Regions from separate parts of the Homo sapiens genome. Here regions 1 and 2 are each linked to region 3. The links are contacts of gene promoters, found by promoter capture Hi-C in human tissues and cell types (Jung and others, 2019). All regions are on one chromosome and are shown on one strand. The core of a region is centred on a gene start or on the middle of the fragment in contact, and the rest is flanking DNA. Distances in the headings are between cores, read along the strand shown. Region 1 has its middle 20 kb from the start of LINC01372. Region 2 has its middle 41 kb from the start of LINC03011. Region 3 holds the start of TMEM248 (transmembrane protein 248).

What was found. The method cuts DNA at HindIII sites, captures the fragments that hold promoters and counts their contacts. A contact is called where the count stands out against the background at its distance.
Region 1: a fragment that was not itself captured here is called in contact with the fragment with the promoter of TMEM248 in region 3 in 1 of the 25 tissues and cell types used here (spleen).
Region 2: a contact is called between a fragment that was not itself captured here and the fragment with the promoter of TMEM248 in region 3, in 1 of the 25 tissues and cell types used here (spleen).

Annotation. Positions count from the first base shown.
Region 1 is chr7:67,313,482-67,317,719 of GRCh38, reverse strand. It overlaps the pseudogene STAG3L4. Among named protein-coding and RNA genes, the nearest start is that of LINC01372, 20 kb to the left of the region's middle. The HindIII fragment of the contact is 8,480 bases long and covers 1-4,238 here.
Region 2 is chr7:66,532,918-66,537,010 of GRCh38, reverse strand. It overlaps the pseudogene LOC100420547 and the pseudogene RABGEF1P1. Among named protein-coding and RNA genes, the nearest start is that of LINC03011, 41 kb to the right of the region's middle. The HindIII fragment of the contact is 8,360 bases long and covers 1-4,093 here.
Region 3 is chr7:66,919,968-66,923,726 of GRCh38, reverse strand. It overlaps TMEM248 (transmembrane protein 248), which reads right to left and starts at 2,502. Exons shown (of 7, transcript NM_017994.5): 1 at 2,266-2,502. RefSeq lists a silencer at 2,211-2,460. The HindIII fragment of the contact is 13,933 bases long and covers 1-3,759 here.

The DNA of each region.
Region 1 (4,238 bases), core at 204-2,703, 400 kb before region 3:
CAAACTGCTGGGATTACCAGAGTGAGCCACCTCGCCCAGCCTCCAGACCTTTTTGAATTCCAGAATTGAAAAGCAATTTTAGATCTATAATATGGTTTTTAGAAGATTGCTGAGGGCCTTGATAAGAAACAACAGTGGGGAGAGGAGAGCTTGAACTAACACTTACTGGAAGAAGACAAAGAAATCCTAGGCTGGGCACAGTGGCTCAGGCCTGTAAACCCTGCAGTTTTGGAGGCCGAGGCAGGCAGATCACTTGAAGTCAAGAGTTTGAGACCAGCCTGGCCAACATGGTGAAACTCCATCTCTCCTAAAAATACAAAATTATCCAGGTACAGTGGCACGTGTCTGTAGTCAGGAGGCTGAGGCAGGAGAATTGCTTGAAACGAAGAGGCGGAGGTTGCAGTGAGCCAAGATCATGCCACTGCACTCCAGCCTGGGTGACAGAATGGCATTTTGGTATTTTAGATACCAAAAAAAACCATTAAAAATTAAAAATAAAAACATAAAAATCTGCCCAGAGGCCAGGTGTGGTGGGTACACCGGTAATCCCAGCATTTGGGGAGGCCAAGGCAGGAGAATCACTTGAGCCCAGGAGTTGGAGACCAGTCTAGGCAACATTGCGAAACCTCATCTCTACAAAAAATACAAAAGTTAGCCAGGCATGGTGGCAGGCACCTGTAGTCCCAGTTACTCAGGAGGCTGAAGTGGGAGGGTGCTTTGAGCCCAGGAAGCAGAGGTTGCAGTGAGCCGAGATCTCGCCACTGCACTCCAACCTGGGCAAGAGAGCCAGACTTCATCTCAAAAATAAATGAATACATACTAAAATAAATAAAATGTATTTTTAAAATGCCTAGAACATTCTGTTCTTCTTTTTTTTTTTTTTTTTTGAGACGGAGTCTTGCTCCGTCACCCAGGCTGGAGTGCAGTGGTACAATCTCAGCTCACTGCAACCTCTGCCTCCCAGGTTCAAGCGATACTCCTGCCTCAGCCTCCTGAGTAGCTGGGATTACAGGCGCCTGCCACCATGCCCAGCTGTTTTTTGTATTTTTAGTGGAGCTAGGGTTTCACCATGTTGATCAGGCTGGTCTCAAACTCCTGACCTCGTGATCCACCTGCCTCGGACTTCCAAAGTCCTGGGATTACAGGTGTTGCGCCACCGCACCTGGCCGGGTTTTGTTTTCTCATTTCTGTTGTGTTTGTTTTGTTTTGTTTTTTCGAGATGGAGTCTCACTCTACTGCCCAGGCTGGAGTCAGTGGTTCAATCTCAGCTCACTGCAACCTCCAACTCCCGGGTTCAAGCAATTCTCCTGCCTCAGCCTCCCGAGTAGCTGAGATTACAGTCGCTCACTACCATGCCCTGCTAATTTTTGTATTTTTAGTACAGACAGGGTTTCACGATGTTGACCAGGCTGGTCTCAAATTTCTGACCTCAGACGATCCACCTGCCTCTGCCTCCCTAAGTGCTGTAATTACAGGCATGAGCCACTGTGCCTGGTCTGTTTTTGTTTGTTTGTTTGTCTTTTGAGACAGAGTCTAGTTGCCCAGGCTGGAGTGCAATGGCGTGATCTCGGCTCACTGCAACCTCTGCTTCCCCGGTTCGAGATTCTTCTACCTCAGCCCCCTAAGTAGCTGGGATTATTGGTGCATGCCACAACACCCAGCTAATTTTTTTTTTGTATTTTTAGTAGAGATGGAGTTTTCACCATGTTGGCCAGGCTGGTCTCAAGCTCCTGACCTCAAGTGATCTGCCTGTCTTGGCCTCCCAAAGTCCTTGGATTACAGGCATGAGCCATCATGCCTGGCCAGCAGGCAAGACATAGGGTTTATTAAGGGGACTTACAGGGTAGTCCAGACATGGCAGGTGGAACAGGAGAATCACACCTGCTTACAAAAAGCATGCAGTTGGGCCGGGCGTGGTGGCTCACGCCTGTAATCCCAGCACTTTGGGAGGCCAAGGTGGGCGGATCACAAGGTCAGATTGAGACCATCCTGGCTAACATGGTGAAACCCCGTCATCTCTACTAAAAATACAAAAAATTAGCCAGGCGTGGTGGGAGGTGCCTGTAGTCCCAGCTACTCGGGAGGCTGAGGCAGGAGAATGGTGTGAACCCAGGCGGCAGAGCTTGCAGTGAGCCGAGATTGTGCCACTGCACTCCAGCCTGGGTGACAGAGCAAGACTCTGTCTCAAAAAAAAAAAAAAAAAAAAAGCATGCAGTTTATAGAGCATTTCCACTTAGCACCCTCCCCCTAGCACCCTCCCTCTGGCAAACCTTCACTGAACCCCAAACAAAGGCCACCATCCCCTAGATGGTCCAGGGGTTCAGATGTTCCTCACAGATAAGAAATGAATCTCTGGGTTGGCCACTCCTGGATTCCTTAGCTTAGAATTTTCAACACATACTCTTCTTAAGACCATGGGGTCATTTTCAAGGTATGCTGATGTTACTGTTGTCAGATGTGTTTGCCATGCATCATAGCTAACCACTAGGAAGTTCTATAAGTGAGGCAAGGCCTTAAGAACATACTCTGAGCTAGAAGTGTCAAGTTGGAGGCCCTCGACATTAGAAGCCAGAGACTGGGTACACCCCACATAGTGAGAGAAGGTGAGGGATGTGGGGATGTGTCAGCTATATCCATTGCTACCCAGCAAACCATTCCAAGTCTTAGTGGAGAAAAATAACTTTTTTTTTTTTTTTTTTTTTTTGTCAGAGGCAGGTTCTCATTCTGTCACCCAGGCTGGAGTGCAATGGTGCAAACACGGCTTACTGCAGCCTCAACCTCCTGGGCTCAAGTGATCCCCCCCACCTCAGCCTCCCAAGTAGCTGCAACTACAGGCATGCATCACCATGCCCCAGTAATTTTTGTATTTTTTTGTAGAGAAGGGGTTTTGCCATGTTGCCCAGTCTGGTCTTGAAGTCCTGACCTCAAGGTCTCCACCCGCCTTGGCCTCCCAAAATGCTGGGATTACAGGCATGGGCCATCACACCCAGCCTGATGTTACTACTATAACTGTTTTGGGGTACCACGAACCATGCCCATATAAGATGGCAAACTTAACAAATGTTGTCTGTGTTCTGACTACCCTACCAACAAGCTTCCCTGTCTCTGTCTCTCTCCTCAGGCCTCCCTATTCATTCCTTGAGACATAAAAGTATTGTAATTAGGTCAATTAATAACCCTCTTAAGTATCCAAATGAAAGGAAGAGTCATATGTTTCTCATTTTAAATCAAAAGCTAGAAATGATTAAGCTTAGAGGCCAGGCGTGGTGGCTCATACCTATATTCTCAGCACTTTAGGTGGCCGAGGTGGCAAATCACTTGAGGTCAGTTTGAGACCAGCCTGGCCAACATGGCGAAACCCTGTCTTTACTAAAAACAGAAAATTAGCCGGGCACGGTGGCAGGCACCTATAATCCCAGCTACTCAGGAGGCTGAGGCAGGAGAATCGCTTGAACCTGGGAGGCGGAGGTTGCAGTGAGCCGAGATCACGCCATTGCACTCTAGCCTGGGCAACAAAGCGAGACACTATCTCAAAAAGACAAAAAAAAAAAAAAAAAAAAAGAAATGATTAAGCTTAGTTGAAAGCCAAGACAGGCCAATCAATAGCTAGGCCTCTTGTGCCAAACAGCCAAGTTGTGAATGCAAAAGAAAAATTCTTGAAAGAAATTAAAAACGCTACTCCAGTGAACACACAAAGGGTAAGAAAGTTAAACAGTCTTATTGCTGATATAGAGACAGTTTTAGTAGTCGGAACAGAAGATCAAACCAGCCACAACATTCCCTTCGGCCAAAGCCCAATCCAGATCAACATCCTAGCTGTCTTCCATTCTATGAAGGCTGAGCAAAGTAAGGAAGCCACAGAAGAAAAGTTTGAAGCTAGAAGTTAGTTCATGAGGTTTAAGAAAAGAAGCCCTCTCCATAACATAAAAGTACAAGGTGAAGCAGCAAATACTGATAGAGAAGCAACAAGTTATCAAGAAAATCTAGCTAAGATCATTGATGAAGGTGGCTACACTAAACAATGAATTTTCAGTGTGGACTAAACTGCCTTATATTGGAAAATGCCACCTAGGACTTTCACAGCTATTGAGGAGAAGTCAATGCCTGGCTTCAAAGCGTCAAAGGACAGCCTGACTCCTTGTTAGGGGCTAATGCAGTTGGTGACTTTATGTTGAAGCCAATACTCATTTACCATTTTAAAAATCCTAAGGCTCTTAAGAATTATGCTAAATCTACTC
Region 2 (4,093 bases), core at 526-3,025, 390 kb after region 3:
TGCAGGGGCAGGCGCAATACCAGGCCCTGCAAGGCCAGGGCCACAAGCCCAATGGTCTACCCAAGACTGATTGCCTGGGTTCAAATCCCAGCTCTGCTATCAGCTCGCGACCCTGGGCAAGTCCCTGAACCACTCTATGTCCTCATCTGTAGAGCAGCAATGGGCAGGCGTGCAGTGGCTCACGCCTGTCATCCCAGCACTTTGTGGGGCTGAAGTGGGCATATCACCAGAGGTCAGGAGTTTAAGACCAGACTGGCCAACATGGTGAAACCTCATCTCTACTAATAATACAAAAAAATTAGCTGGGCGTGGTGGCGGGTGCCTGTAATCCCAGCTACTTGGGAGGCTGAGGCAGGAGAATCGCTTGGACCTGGGAGGCGGAGGTTGCAGTGAGCCGAGATTGCACCACTGTGCTCCAGCCTGGGCAACAAGAGCAAAACTCCATCTCAAAAAAAAAAAAAGGGGGGTCAGGGGAGTGGGTTTAGTTTACTGTCCTGAATGCCAAGTCAGCAAACCTATTCTTGGGGGCACCTGCCTGAGCTTTCCTGAACCCAGGCTGGCTGTAAATGACACCCACGGCTGCAAACATTTCAGAGTGTTCTGTTTGGAAATGTCATAGTTAGGACTCAGTGTGTGTGGGGGTTCACCTCATGGTCTGCCCCTAGTGCTGTGCAGAAAGTCCTGCTGAAAGAACCCATCCCTGCAGCAGTGACCTCCTGCCCACTGCCCCTGGACAGTGACGCCTTTGGTGGACAGGCCTTCCCTTGACATTTCTCCTGCCCCTTCCTGCTCATGCTGTTCTTCGGTCTCCTCTCTCTTTAACACTGCCTGGGCAACTCTCAGCTTATCTTTTCCAACCTGCTGTCTGTTAGCCCAAGGAGTAACTGAATTTTGCGAAGGGGGAAAAAAAAGACAACCAAGCTCACTGAATCACAGCCATGCTATGTACACAATTTTAAACCAACTGGCTGGGGTGATGCCTGGGCTGGCTCTGTGGCTCTCTCCTGGGGCAAAGTGCAAGAGCCTTGGCCAGCCTTGGCCTCTCCCTGCCTAGTTAGAGGTCTTTAGCTCAGACTGACGATCTCGTATTGGTAATTACGACCATTCACAGCAGGGAGACGCAGCCAGCGAAGGGCAAGGGCGGTTTAGAGGGGAGAGACTGCGATCTGTAGCAGAAGCGTGGGATAATAGCCTTCCTCTCCCCTCCTGAACCATTTCACAGAGCCCCAACTCACTGCCAGGCCGGGGCAGAGTTCATGGCTGCAGCGATTGCACCACTGCTTTCCAGCCTGGGTGACAGAGTGAGACTCAGTCTTGAAAAAATAAAAAAGGTACATTCAGGTTCAGCATTTAACTGCTTGTAGGGCCTGTGCACAGGTTTAGCAGGAATTCCTTCAGCTCCATTTCATGGATGAGGTAACTGAGGCCTGGAGAGAGGAGGGCCAAGCTGCAGTGGGGCAGAGACCTGTGCCCGTGGCAGAGACCTGTGCCCAGGCCAATGATCATGAGTCTGTGTTGCTTCTGCCATCAGACCTGGCTGAGCCTGGACACTGCGTGCAGGAGGGGCCCTTAAGCCTTGACCCATTTTACAAAGGGAACTGTCTTTTTTTTCTTGAGATGGAGTCTCGCTCTGTCGCTTAGGGTGGAGTGCAGCGGCATGATCTGGGCTCACTGCAATCTCCACCTCCCAGGTTCCAGCAATTCTCTTGCCTTAGCCCCTCGAGTAGCTGAGACTACAGGCACAAGCCACCACACTCAGCTAATTTTTGTATTTTTAGTAGAGACGGGGTTTCACCATGTTGGCTGGGCTGGTCTCGAACTCCTGACCTCAGTTGATCTGCCCGCCTCGGCCTCCCAAAGTGCTAGGATTACAGGTGTGAGCCACTGTGCCCGGCCCAAAGGGAACTGTCTTAAAGTGGGATTGTTGAAGTACTCTCTGTGTCCCCAAGACCCCTCCTTCTGAACCCCTCTAGGGCCTAGACATGCCAGAGCCATCAAACCCCCAAATCCAAAACTCCAGTGTGGGTGGGAAGGAGGCTGCTGGAATGGGGGAATCTCCACTTCTCTTCCTCTGCATTTTATTTTATTTTTTTTCAGATGGACTCTCACTGTTGCCCAGGCTGGAGTGCAGTGGCACTATCTCAGTTCACTGCAACCTCTGCCTCCCGGGTTCAAGTGGTTCTCCTGCCTCAGCCTCCCGAGTAGCTGGGATTACAGGCGTGCACCACCATGCCTGGCTAATTTTTCTATTTTTAGTAGAGATGGGTTTTCACCATGTTGCCCAGGCTGGTCTTGAACTCCTGGGTTCAAGCAATCCACCCACCTCGGCCTCCCAAAGTGTTGGGATTATAGGCGTGAACCACTGCACCCGGCCTTCTTCCTCTGCTTTTCAAAAATTATGTTTTTAGAGATGTAGACTCATTTTGTCACCCATGGAGTGGTGCGATCCTAGCTCACTGAAGCCTTGACCTCATCCTCCTGCCTCAGTCTCCTGAGTATGTGGGCCTACCGGTGCACACCACCACGTCTGGCTAATTCTAAAATTTTTGTAGAGACAGGATCTTGCTACATTGCCCAGGTTGATCTCAAACTCCTGGCCTCAAGCAGTCCTTCCCCCTCGGCCTCCCAAAGTGTTGGGATTACAGGCGTAAGCCACCAGGCTGGGCCTTAAACTTTTTAATGGATCTATGCTTCTCTTCCGTTGCTTTTTTTTTTTTTTTTTTTTTTCTGAGACAGGATCTCGCTCTGTTGCCCAGGCTGGAGTGCAGTGGCATGATCTCAGCTCACTGCGACCTCTGCCTCCTGAGTAGCAAGCGTGCCACCATGCCTGGCTAATTTTTTTGTGTTTTTAGTAGAGATGGGGTCTTGCCATGTTGCCCAGGCCGGTCTCAAATTCCTGAGCTCAAGGGATCCTCCGGTTGCGGCCTCCCACAGTGCTGGGTTTACAGGCATGAGCCGTCACGCCCGGCTATAAGTGTTAATTGCATTCTTAGTAACAGCAAAACAATGGAAGCAGCCCAATCCCCAAGGAGAGGAGAGTGAGGAATTGCATCATGGTAAAATTCCACTCAATGGAAGATTATAGAGCCATGAGAACTAAGAGGCTACAGCTACACACTTTGACATTATGTCAACCAGAGCTAAGTGGTAAACAGCAAGACCCAGATTCTATTCAGTAACATGCCTTTGTTATAAAAGTAAAATTATAGGCTGGGCGCGGTGGCTCACGCCTGTAATCCCAGCATTTTGGGAGGCCGAGGCAGGTGGATCATGAGTTCAGGAGATGGAGACCATCCTGGCTAACACGGTGAAACCCTGTCTTTACTAAAAATACAAAAAATAAGCTGGGCATGGTGGCAGGCGCCTATAGTCCCAGCTGCTTGGGAGGCTGAGGCCAGAGAATCACTTGAACCCCGGAGGTGGAGGTTGCAGTGAGCTGAGATCACACAACTTCAGCCTGGGTGACAGAGCGAGACTCCATCTCAAAAAAAAAAAAAAAAGTAAAATTATAAGCAAAATGAAATAATTTTTGTTTAGGCAAACATACACAGTAAAATAATTAAAAAAAATTAACCTGTGAGCCTGGTGTGGTGGCTCACGCCTGTAATCTTACCACTTTGGGAGGCCAAGGCAGGAGGATCACTTGAGGACAGGAGTTGGAGACGAGCCTTGAGCAACATATAGAGACTCTGTCTACAAAAAATTTAAGAGTAGCTGGTGCAGTGGCACCTGGCTGTAGTCCCAGCTACTCGGGAGGCTGATGCGGGAGGATTGCTTGAACCTAGGAGTTGGAGGCTACAGTGAGCTATGTGATAGTGTCACTGCACTCCAGCCTATCTCTACAAAAATAAAAAATAAAATATGAGCTGGACATGGTAGCACGTGTGCTTGTAGTCCTAGCCACTCGAGGGGCTAAGGTGGTAGGATGGCTTGAGCCTAGAAGGTCCAGGCTGCAGTAAACTATGACTGTGCCACTGCATTCCAGCCTGGGCAAGAGGGAGACTGTCTTTAAAAAAAAATTTAAAAAATCAACCAGTGAAAAATGATTATATCATGAATGAGAACAGGCACAGAAGACGTTTTTGGAAATTTG
Region 3 (3,759 bases), core at 1,253-3,752:
CCTGGGCAACAGAGCAAGACTCCATCTCAAAGAAAACAAAAACAAAAAAACCCAGAAATCTACGAGAAACTAGACTGGGTAGCTTATGCTTATCTTTCTTAGAAAAGCATTTAACCCTTAACTAGCTGCCTCTGCCAATATTTCTAGGCACTGATTGTCCAGCTACCTAGCCTGGGTGCTTGTCCACCAACTGGCCCTAGTTTTTTCATTTCCCAGCTAATTCTGAATGGCCCAAATCCTCTTGATCTTTCTAGGTCCACCTCAAAGTTTACTTCACGAGTTTCGGGCTGAGCAAGGTGGCTCACACCTATACTTCCAGCACTTTGGGAGGCCAAGGTGGGCAGATCACCTGAGGTCAGGAGTTCAAGGCCTGGCCAACAACATGAAACCTCGTCTCTACCAAAAATACAAAAATTAGCCAGGCGTGGTGGCAGGCAACTGTAATCCCAGCTACTCAGGCAGCTGAGGCAGAAAAATCGCTTGAACCTGAGAGGCAGAGGTTGCAGTGAGCTAACTTCGCGCCACTGCACTCCAGCCTAGGCAACAGAGCAAGACTCCGCCTCAAGAAAAAAAAAAAAGTTAGTTTCTGATCCTAACCATAACAAAATCCTGAACAGTTGGTATACCACTATGGCAATTCAGTCCTGCCACATTTTCTAGCCTATTGCTTCCTCTAAGTACATTCCTTACAGGCAGAAACTATTAATATATTCGCACTTATGCCAGGTGCGGGTGGTTCACGCCTATAATTCCAGAACTTTGGGAGGCCGAGGAGGATGGATCACCTGAGGTCAGGAGTTCAAGACCAGCCTGGCCAACATGGTGAAACCTTGTCTCTACTAAAAATACAAAAATTAGCTGGGCATGGTGGCGGGCACCTGTAATCCCAGCTACTAGGGAGGCTGAGGCAGGAGGATTGCTTGGACCTGGGAGGCAGAGGTTGCAGTGAGCAGAGATCGCACCACTGCACTCCAGCCTGGGCGACAAGAGTGAGACTCTGTCTCAAAAACATATATATATATAATCTACCTTTCCTCCTTGCCACAGATGCAGCTAGAGCCTAAACGGAGAAGGTGCCAGTTAACTAGCCTTTGGTGATTTTAGCATTGAGACTCCGGTGCTAGCAGTGATTCCAGTCCACCTGATTCAGGCCACAGGAATTCTCCCAGAATCTTCACTACAAGTTGAAACTCCAAATCCTTAATCCTAGAGAGTAAATGCACTTAGGGTCAATGCACACCTAAGTATACCTTAGGTGCGCGACAGGTCTATTTCCTGTCAGAATCCCTAGATGAAAAGAGGAAGTAGATGGACACCCTTATCGGTCAAGCGCTGATGGAACACTCATCTACAAATGAGATACACATGCTGAGACCCTAAGCTGACCCAAGCTGATGGTGCTATCGAGACAAACCACTTTATCACATATTCATCAGCAGTCTCGGAGTTTTTCTTCCCATTCCCTCCCGTAGCGGCTCACCTTTGAGGCAGGAAAGAAGCAGTTCAGGCGGAAGCCACAATCTTTACAAAGCAGGCTTCAGAGAAGCTCACCATTCATCAGCCAGTGAGGGCTGTCACCTGCTAGTTGAGAACTAAACTCAGACATCAGATTCTTCCACAAAGGCCTCCTCACCAGCTGTCCGATGGGTACGGCGTTCAAACGACTCAAAACAGCACAACAAGCCTGGTTTTATTTCTGATGGTCCCCATCAAGGGAACTGAAACTACATGCCTCTAGATTACCTTGCGATCACTCCTCATTTTATTAAAAACATGAAGAAAGAATCCACCCCATTCCGGATATTTACCAAGCTTGACACAGGGAACACCACTATGCCATTTAACTTTGTGGACGTACGTGAGTCTCTCCCTCCCACCTTTCTGAGATGTGTTTCACTGCCAAACGGAGAAGAAACGCAAACACTCCCCAAAGCCGAAAAATGGCAAACGACCAAGATGTTTCCCGTGCCAAATCCGAATTATCCAGGCCTCGGCTCCAGACGTGGGAAGTCCCGCCATCTCCAAGGCCGGCAGGGAACCCTGGCTCGGGGGACGCGAGTGGGCAAACCCCAGTGTGGGGGGACCAGGCCGAGGTCGGCCGATGCTGGGCGACCCCCGCCAGCAGTTGGGGCGGGGTCTGCACCCTGAGAAGCGGTGAAAAAAGCCGGCGGAGGAGCCGCTCCCGACCAGCACGCTCCCCGCTCCCGGCCCCGCGGGCAGCCCCGACTGGGCCCGACCCCAGCCCGCCCTCCAGCCCCGGCTCACCCCGCCCCGGCGGGCAGCTGCGCGCCCCGGGCCCAGCCGGGCCAGCTGCTCGGCGGACGCCCGCGGTCGCGCTGGGCTCACTCGTGGCGGCGCGTGGCGGGCCCGAGGCCGCTAGGCACCATCTTCTCCCCGCGCCGGGGGCAGCGTCTGGCTCCGCGGGGCCGACGCGAAGACCAGACGCCAACCGGGCTCCCGCCGCCGCCTCAGTTCGGGCTCCGGCAACCGCGGTTTCCGGGTGAAAAAAAAAAAAAAAACCACGCCACCTCCAACGCCGCCGTGACCTCCGACCCCGGGCGTCCGACGGTGGCGCGGCCGGGACAAGCTTCGTCAGAGGCAGGCGGCGGAGACCACGCTTCCGGGACGGGTAGCGTGCATGCGGACGTGCGTGGAGTGCGTGATGGACGTTTATGGGTCTGTGTGCCGGTCTGGTGTTGTGCGTGTGCGTGTGTGCGTAGTGCGTGTATGTGGCTTGTAGTGTGCATCGTGTACAACGGTGTGTGCAGTGAGTGCATGTATGTGCATCTGTGTGCGCGTGTGTGGTGTGTGATGGTATGGGTGTGTGCATGCGTAGATGTGTAGGGAGTGCGCACACGTGTGCATGCTCATGTGTGTGCTATGCGTGTGTCTGTTGATGTGCTTGTATATTAATCACTGCTGATAAACATGTAATTTTGGACCAGGCGCGGTGGCTCAGGCCTGTAATCTCAGCACTTTGGGAGGCCAAGGCAGGAGGATCGCTTGAGTCCTGGAGTTCCAGACCAGCCTGGGTAACATAGGGAGTCTCTGACTCTATTTATAAATAAAATAAAATGAAAATGAAAATTTTTAAAGTATAATTTTGTACAATCACTTTGCAAAGTAATTTGGCATTATGCAGTACACTTAAAGATATACACATCCTCTCTTGAGAATATATTACCCTGGAGAAACAGTTGCACCTATGCACAAGTAGACAAAATAATGCTCATAGCAACACCAATGTTTTTAGCAGCAGTATGACTCACTAAAAATTGGGGAGAAAAAGCAGATGTCCATACAGTCAAATGTAAAAACCAACTTTGATATATTCATGGTTTGGTTTGTTTTTGTAGAGACAGGGTCTCCCTATGTTACTCAAGCTGGTCTCGAACTACTGGACCCAAGTGATCCTCCCACCTCGGGAGGATCTGGGATTACAGGTGTGAGCTGCCACGCCTGGCCCATCTTCGTGTTTAATCGGGTACAAAAGACCAGTGAAAATTATTTAATACAGCTCACACAATTATGGTAGTCAATTGCAGACTATATTGGCAGGGACCAAATCACAAAATGGTACACTGCTACATATTTCCATTATGTAAAATTCAAAACAGGCAAGTTCATAACATATTGTTTAGAGATGCATACATAATTGTTTGAACTGACATGAAGCATGAGAAAAAGATGTATAAACTTCATGTTAAGTGTTAGGGGAATGGGATGGGGGAGGAGTACAGGGTGCTTTAAAGGTAATAA